Regions from separate parts of the Homo sapiens genome. Here region 2 is linked to region 1. Evidence: promoter capture Hi-C in human tissues and cell types (Jung and others, 2019). All regions are on one chromosome and are shown on one strand. The core of a region is centred on a gene start or on the middle of the fragment in contact, and the rest is flanking DNA. Distances in the headings are between cores, read along the strand shown. Region 1 holds the start of ABCC5 (ATP binding cassette subfamily C member 5). Region 2 overlaps MAP6D1 (MAP6 domain containing 1).

Region 1 (4,119 bases), core at 761-3,260:
AATCAGCTGGGTGCGGTGGCCGGTGTCTGTAGTCCCAGCTACTCCAGAGGCTGAGGCAGGAGAATTACTTGAACTCTGGAGGTGGAGGTTGCAGTGAGCTGAGGTGGCACCACTGCACTCCAACCTGAGGGACAGAGAAAGACTCTGTCTCAAAAAAAAAAAAAAAAAAATCAATTTCCCTGATTATGAATGAGATTGGGTGTCTTTTCATATTTGAGTGGCTGCTCAAGTTTCCTATTCTGTGAGCTGTCTGTTCATGTCATTTACCTATTTTCCTATTGGGTTATCTGCCGTTTCTTACTGAACTTAGAAATTATTTTGAATATTTATTATTCAAAAACTTTGTCAGTTATAACTTGTGGTTTATCTTTTCAATTTATGCCATCTTTTAATATGGCAAAAATTATCAATCTTTCTTCCTTTATTCTTTGTTTCTTGTTTAAAAAGTTCTTTCCTACTCCCAAGTTCATAAAGATATTTCCTATCTTCTTCTAAAAGTTTTTAAGTTTTCCCTTTCACATTTAAGCGTTTGATCTACCTGAAATGGGTTTTTTCTGTGTGGTATGAAGCGGTAATCCCTGATTGTTTTTTCATATGTATAACCAATTGTTCCAGTACTATTTACTGACTCTTCTTGCTTTCCCCACGGATTCGTAAGGTTTTCTGTCACAGATCAAGTTACATGGATGCACCAGTCTGTTTGGGGGCTCTTTATTCTATTGCATTGGTCTATCAATCCGTGCGCAAGAATATGCTGCTTTACGATACAGTAGTGTCTTCACACTAGCTAACTAGCTAGCTGTTATAAAGATGGACAAGTCACTTTACCTTCTCCTTCTTCCTCTTCCTCTTCTTCTTCTTCTTTTTTAATCTTTGAATTAAAAAAAAATACGGCGGGGTGAGGTGGCTCGCGCCTGTAATCCCAGCACTTTGGGAAGCCGAGGCGGGCGGATTACCTGAGGTCGGGAGTTCGAGACCAGCCTGGCCAATATGGCGAAACCCTGTCTCTACTTAAAAAATACGAAAATTAGCCGGGCGTGGTGGCGGACGCCTGTAATCCCAGCTACTCGGGAGGCTGAGGCAAGGAGAACTGCTTGAACCCGGAAGGCGGACGCTGCAGTGAGCCGAGATCGCGCCATTGCACTCCAGCCTGGGCAACAGAGCCAGACTCCTTAAAAAAAAAAAAAAACTCATAATACCTACTCATAGGGCTGTAATGGAGATTAAAGGAAACAAGAATGGTATGTAAAGCATCGGATACAAGGTAGGGAAGAACTCAACAGTGGCTTTTATTTAATGATGCTGAAGGTACCGATGAAACAGAGAAATAAAGGGATCAATCTTTCTGGGAGCTTCAGTTTCATTTATAAAAAGAAGAAGATGAGTTAGCATAACATTTCTAAGGCTCTTGCCACTTCTAAGACTGTGATCCTGGCATTTTATTATCTAGAGACCAGGCAGCGAGACATTGATGGGCAGTTGGTGTTAAAGTGAGAAAGGCGGTATCTGCGCAGACTGCAGGGTCGAACCATGAGCAAGCAATCGTATCTGCCACAACAGATAAGAACTGGGGCTGGCCGGCCTGACGACTCTCAACGGGTTAGACGCGGGCTACGATGACCTTCACGATCTTTTCTGGCAGCTACACGGCCACGCAGGGTGGGACTGCTCTGCCTACGAACAGCACTGTGTGCGAACACAGGGCCACGGTTAAGCCTCCCGGCTGCCTCCCCCAGGGAACACGACCCCTGAGAAGATTCCAGACAGTCTCGCAGAGGCACGGGGAAGGATGGAACAGAGCCGGGAGCTCGGTGGGAAGAGGGGCAGCCCGCACCGCCCCCGGGATGTCACCGGCGCTTCTGGGAAATGTAGTCCTTCGCCGCGTCCGCAGCCCTGGGCACTCGGAAGGAGGACTACAGTTCCCTTCAGCCTTGGGAATGCTTTGTGCAGCGCGCTTGCGCGGTGTGGCGGCCGATGCCGCTATAAAGGCTTGTTTTGCTGCAGGGCTCATGCTCGGGAGCGTGGTTGAGCGGCTGGCGCGGTTGTCCTGGAGCAGGGGCGCAGGTAGGTGATGGCTGCTGCCGCACCCCTGCCCTCCAGCTCGGTTGTCACGGGGATCACCCCTTTGCATTTCCTCGGGGCGTGGCGGGATGTGGCCAGGGCTGCGAGCAGTTCGGGGGACACTGGAGACTTGGGGAACGGCGTATGGCCTCCCCCTGGTCTCCTGCCGCCGCCTCCTAGGCCTGTGAGCCCGGGGTCTGGTGACGGGGTCGTGTGCTGGAAGACAGGCAGGTAGGATCGGGATGAGCGGGCAGGGACGCGGGCTACGTCCCTGGCCGCGGCCGCCAGGGGGCGCTGCGCCCGCGGGCCGTGGGTGTGGGTCGCGCTCGCCTGGGCAGGCCGGAGCGGGCTGTGGGAACGCCCTAGGGCCCGGGCATCCCAGGCGAAGCGGGTCTGAGAGAAACGCCCACCTGGGAGGCTGTGCAGCGGGTGGCTCGGGGCACCCTGCTCAACCCGCAGCGGAGCCGCCAGCGACCTTCGAAGTAAGTCATCCCCTTCGTTTTTGCAAGCGGGTAAATGGAGGTACGTGACATAAGCACGCGCAGCAAAGCCGTGGCTGTGCCGGGAACGCAGCCCAGATCTCTCCACGGTCATCCAGTGCTCTTTTCGCTTCTGCCACACAGAGCCGCGGGTGGCTTTGTGTTTATCACACAGGGGCCATTTGGTTTCTGCACAGACGGAGAGGCTGGAGGCAGGTGGGCACAGGAACGACGGGGAAAGTTTCAGGAGGTCTTGGAGGAGGAGATGGCTAGGTTTTACTGTGGTCCGCAGCGTGTATGAAAGGTGAGGCTGCTTGGAGACGCAACAAGTGGATTACAGTGGGTGTGGTAAATACGTATCCCTTTAGCGTGGTGTCTTCCTCGTGCAGCTTGAGGGCCTGGAGGTGATGGAAACCTACTCATGAGTGTTGGGATGACTGCAGCTTGCACACACCAGTCTGGTAATCCCGTGCAACTCTCCTCCTGCCATGCAGTTGAATCAGTATCATTGTGCAGGGAGAGTGTCTACACTTTTATCAGTGGAAAGAGAATCTTGGTAAAAAAGGGCAGCTGACTAAGTGGCCTCAACCCTATTGGGCACTTCTTTGGGGTTCTCCCACGTTGATTATTCTGCTTCTACCCTTGTACATGTCTGGACAACAGGTTTGTTTTTTACAAACAAAAATCCCTTCTCTTTCTTCCTCTCTTGATAGCTGAGGCAAGTGAGCATTTAAAAAAGATATTCCAACAACTTTAAAGGAGGACACGAGAAGATAGGGAAATATAAATAGTATCAGTAAAATGGCTGGCCTGGGGATCCATCCTTGCTTGCTTGCTTGCTTCAGACTGGGGCTTTGTTTCTTTCCAAACCTGTCAGGATTCCCAGCTCTTCGCCGGCCTCCACGTGGGGTGCCCTCTTTTATGTTCCAGATACACAGACGATGGTGTCCTTATGTTCAAGGCCACAGACAGTAACTTTGTGCCTACTTTGGGCCTGCCTGCTCTCCTGATTGTGCCTCTTTTTCCAGGAAAGTAGAGATGAGTGTGTTAGAGATAATGGAACACTGTTCCCCACACCCTTCATACATAGAATAACTTAGTCCCTTAGGATAGTTTAGCAGTGTCTACCACAGCAGTCACTGTAGGCACAAAACAGTCATTATTTGTGTCATAACAGGGAAGTCGTTTTGTCCCTGCCTCTCTCTGCTCCTGTGCTCCACTGATTCTACTTCATCCTTTGAAATAAAAGTGGTTGAAAGAATCTTTGGTTATCATGGGTGCTTAGATAATTAAGATTATGTTCGTGTTCTTCTTGATGTGGCATTTCATATTGTGGATGAGTTCCAGTGACCTCCTCTGTTTCAAACTGCTCACCGCCCCAACCCCCACCTTTTAAAAAGGTAGTACTAATCTTTTCCTCTTCCAGATAATCAGCTAAGCTAGGGAACCCTTGAAGGGGAAGGTTAGAATTTCGTGATTCCCGTAAGAAGGTTACTCTGATCTACAGCTACAGCTCAACACTGGGGACACTGGCAGATGCCAGGTCTGTTTATAGTTTAGCCTTAATGAGGTCTCAATG
Region 2 (4,119 bases), core at 480-2,979, 200 kb after region 1:
GTCGTCTGTGGCTCTGGTGGCTTCCTGCTCTGAGACCCCTGCAGCCACCTCAGGGCAGCGGGCTCAGGATGCCAGGCCCAAGGCTCAGCGTGGGCATGTGAAGTGTTTTGGGGACAGAAGGGCGCGCCCAGGGGAGGACCTGCTTCCGCAGGAGGAACAGAGCAGCATATGGTTTGGGCAGCTGGTCTTCAGAAGCTCGCGGCTTCGGGAGTGAAAATTACCTGACGGGGCCCCGGCCTAGCTCTCCTCCTGGCACCCCAGTGCTGGCCATGGACACAGCCATTCCCTGCCCACGCAGCCTGCCCAGTGGTGCCCCAGCTTTGCAGCTGCCAAGGAGAAAGGCAGCTTTGTTGACCTCAGGGCCTGAAGCCCAACCCCGGCAGTGTCCAGCCTGGGCAGGAGCAACTCCGCACACGTGGGTGCCAGGCCCAGCTAGCTGGACACTTCCACCTTGGCCAGGTGCTCCTGGGACACAGGGACTTCTGCCTTCTGAGCTCCCCATCTTGCAGAGGAGTGGGTAGAATTAAAGGAGGTCCCTTTTGTTCAGAGAAATGGAAGCACTGTCTTTTCATGGAGAAAGCTGCTCCCGGTACATGGAGCTAGCGGTGCCAGCCTCATCCTCTCCCTCCAGGGCCCGCCTTCCCCCATCACACCACCCTCCCCGCCACAGGCTCAGCAACAGCGCATGATCCACTCCCTCCACCATGCACAGAGCTGTGCAAAGGCCAGGCCACCTTGGAGTCTTTTGAGATGGTCACTGCGATCCATTCTTCTGCATGAGTTAATGAGACAAAGTATAAAAAACTAAAAGTTCTGAGCCTTATTTTTCTTTTCAGTCTTAAGCGGGTCTGGCAAGCCAGGGCTGTGCCCGGTGCTGAGGGCATTTCCTCTTCAGGCATAAGCAGTCACCATGACCTGGGTCTCTTGAAGCAGCCTGGCTCTGGAGGGGCAGGTGTGGGAGAATCGCAGGGGGTGCAGGTATAGCACCGGGGCTGCTCGTCTCCAAGACCCAGCAGTGCCAGGTGCTGTTGCGTTCTGAATGAGACCCAGGTGCTAACTGAGCTCTGCCCTGACCCTGCCGCTCGCCTGCAGTGTGAGAATAAGCTTCCTCTCCTACTTCCTTAGGGACCGGGGTGAGCCCAGATTTCCCAGTGGATCGCTGAGGTGAGGGGCCAGGCAGCCACACACCTTTCTCCTGGAGCTGGGCCTGCACGGGAGTGCACTTGCCTTGCCAGTTCTGTCTTTGGGAAGATGATGAGGACTGCCTGGAGCCGAGGGTTTCAGCAATTGGCAGGGCCGTGCATGGGGCAGAGCAGCAGCCCCTGGGGAGTCGGTAAAGGGGTGGCTGACCCTGTGCAAGCTTGTGACCGTGTTCTCTGTTCCAGACAGGAATTCCAGGCTTGGACTGGAGTGAAGCCCTCAAGATCCACAAAGACAAAACCAGCCCGAGTCATCACAACCCACACTTCGGGATGGGACAGCAGCCCTGGGGCCGGCTTCCAGGTCAGCCGGAAGCTGGTGTAGCAGGGGTGTGGGTATAGAGGCCTCTTTCCCCGGGTAGGGATTAGGAGCCAGATTTTCATGGTGTAAAATGCAATTATGACCAGGGACAGCAGTGCCAACCAGATGTCCCGAACAAAAACCCAAGGTACTTCCTCATCAGTAGCCAGCTGGGTGGCCCTCTAGCGTTGGCCTCTCTGGTGAGCAGGGTCTCTCTGCCTCCTAAATCCCCATCTTACCCTTGGCCACTGAACGCTAGTGACTGGCCTGAGTACCACAGCATTTGTGTAAGAGGAAAGAGACGATGGAAGGGAGTGGGGGCATCTCAGCTCCGATTCCCAAGTGGTTCAGGGAGCAGAATGGAAGGTCCGTGTACCACTCAGCTGCTAATGCAGTGACGCCTATGGCTCACGGTGGGCAAGTCCCCTCTGACCCTTCAGGTCTCAACTCCTGGAGGATGCAGAGGATGGGAGGGGATTTTTTCCTGGAGCTGGGTAGTGGGGAAGAGTAGGGAGTTAAGGAAAAGTCCCACTGATATGTGGCCACACTTCATTTTTCAGGTCCCAGAGGTGAGGAAGAAGTTCACTCCTAACCCCTCCGCCATCTTTCAGGCCTCAGCTCCCCGGATTCTCAACGTGTGACTGCCTGCACCGTGACACCATGGCTGCCGACAGGACAGGGCTGGGGAGCGGCCTCAGGACCCACTGCCGCGGGGCTGGGCGAGAGCATGGCATGGGCCCCTGCGGGAGGGCACAGCCCCTCTCAAAGCTGTCACCAGGGCCAAAGTGCTGGTGTGGAGCAGATGCACCGATGGACTTGGCACACCCAGCTCAGCCTCAAGCATCCTCTTGAGAAGCCTGTGGAAGGCTCCTGCGTTCGTTAACTGCCATCTGGCCGTCTCTCAGTTTTGAAATCTCTGAGGAGCCTGAGGATCAAGTCAGTTGGGAACCGAATTGGTCCATGGAAGCTGAGGAATGTGGACACATCCGGCCCTTGAAAGAACCAGTTATGTCCACTTTTGGTGGATTTCCCAGGATGCGTGAGCACTTGATTAATTTCATAACCTACAGTGAGACCCTTGGCTCTTCCTACAAATGGCCCCTGCAGTTGAAGCTGTTGGAATCTTGGGCCGTCACCTGCATGACTCATGGTGATGCTGAGTATCCAGGAGGAAATTTCCAGAAGAAACAGACCGTCAGTCACGGGCTTCCACTTCACAGACCTCCTTATGGCCAAGATGAGCCTCATGTTTTAACAAAACAGTTCTTGGGATTGAATGACTCACATTTACCTTGTGCTAGGTTCTAAAGATTGAATCCACATTTTGTTACTAATGATTTTCCCGCTAACATAAGGATGATGAGCAGGGCACTATCATACACACTGGCTGAGAACTGGAACTGTTTTTGGGAAGGTGGCATTTGTCTCATTCCCTGAAATACCTTAAAATGTCCTCTACACCAACCCTTCCGTCTACCCTGCTCACATGTACAGTGACGGGGAACTCACCACCTTTTGAAGAGGCAGTTCATTTTCTTTGCAAAGCTCTCTCCTAACTTCCTCCGTAAATTCCAGCCAGCATGGCCACATGGGTCACGCCTGGTGCCTTCACACGTTTGAGGGGTCTTCGTCTCTTTTTAAAGCTTAGAGGTACAAGCTCAGGACAGTCTTCAGTAAGGAAATTTGTGGATTTCCCTTTGGATCTTTCTTCCTCTCCAGCCCACAAGTGGCTCTAGTGAGACGAGCATTTAAGCTGCAGGTGGTGGCACTCGGGTCTCAGAGCCACCAGACGTGCAGGTGGGACAGTGGTTCCAGCTCCGACTGCCTGTCAGCGTCCCTCCCAGGTGCTAGCCCTGGCAGGCACAGCCCTCCCCTCATGCCAGCAAAGGAAATGCTCTTGATGAGAGGCTCGCTTTAAAGAAGCCCAAAGCGTGTGCTTATCCAAGGGGTTCAGCTATTCCTGACTTCACGGCTTGCATGTTTGATTTTTCTAAGAGAAAAGAGGCTGCCTGCTGGGTGTCTGTGGAAATGAGATTAAAAACTGTACAATCTCAGATTTTACTAAAATGCAAAAATGTAGTTTCAGTTTCTTAAATTATAAGCACGAGTCTTCTCACGCTTGTTTTCTCCAGTCTCTTGGTGCTAAGGACTTCAGTGTGGTGCAGCTGCCGCCACACCTCAGAGGCCTGTTGATGCTGAGCACTTCTTGCTGTGGGGTGCAGAGCACATGTGGTAGGTGCAGCCCACAGAACCCACCCGTCCCCTACCCTCACCCAGGCGCCTCTCTCTGAAGCTCCTCAGGCTCTAATCCCAGCTTCACTTGCTACCTGTGAGCAACTGGGGTTCCGTTTCTTCACTGAGAAGTGACGACGCTACCAGCTACACCTTGTGGCTTGCCAAGAGCATCCGTGTTTATGGGTGGGGTGCTCAGTACAGGAAATAACTGAGGCACAGGTGTTAGGATTATTCTTTCCTGCCTTAGTCCCCCCTCCTCACTTTCCCTGGGAGCCAGCTGTGTTCCCACCTGCAGCTCCCAGCATCCTCTAGCTTGATGCCGTGTGCTCCCAGCCCCTCACCCCCCCTGGCCAACGTCACCCTGCACAGCGCCCAGATGCTTGT

What was found. The method cuts DNA at HindIII sites, captures the fragments that hold promoters and counts their contacts. A contact is called where the count stands out against the background at its distance.
Region 2: a fragment that was not itself captured here is called in contact with the fragment with the promoter of ABCC5 in region 1 in 1 of the 25 tissues and cell types used here (IMR-90 fibroblasts).

The regions. Positions count from the first base shown.
Region 1 is chr3:184,015,775-184,019,893 of GRCh38, reverse strand. It overlaps ABCC5 (ATP binding cassette subfamily C member 5), which reads left to right and starts at 2,010. Exons shown (of 30, transcript NM_005688.4): 1 at 2,010-2,064. RefSeq lists an enhancer at 1,613-1,792 and a silencer at 2,273-2,442. The HindIII fragment of the contact is 8,418 bases long and covers 1-4,119 here.
Region 2 is chr3:183,815,378-183,819,496 of GRCh38, reverse strand. It overlaps MAP6D1 (MAP6 domain containing 1), which reads left to right. Exons shown (of 3, transcript NM_024871.4): 2 at 1,386-1,503; 3 at 2,061-3,575. The coding sequence ends at 2,141. Among named protein-coding and RNA genes, the nearest start is that of YEATS2-AS1, 7.0 kb to the right of the region's middle. RefSeq lists an enhancer at 1,265-1,876. The HindIII fragment of the contact is 6,103 bases long and covers 1-4,119 here.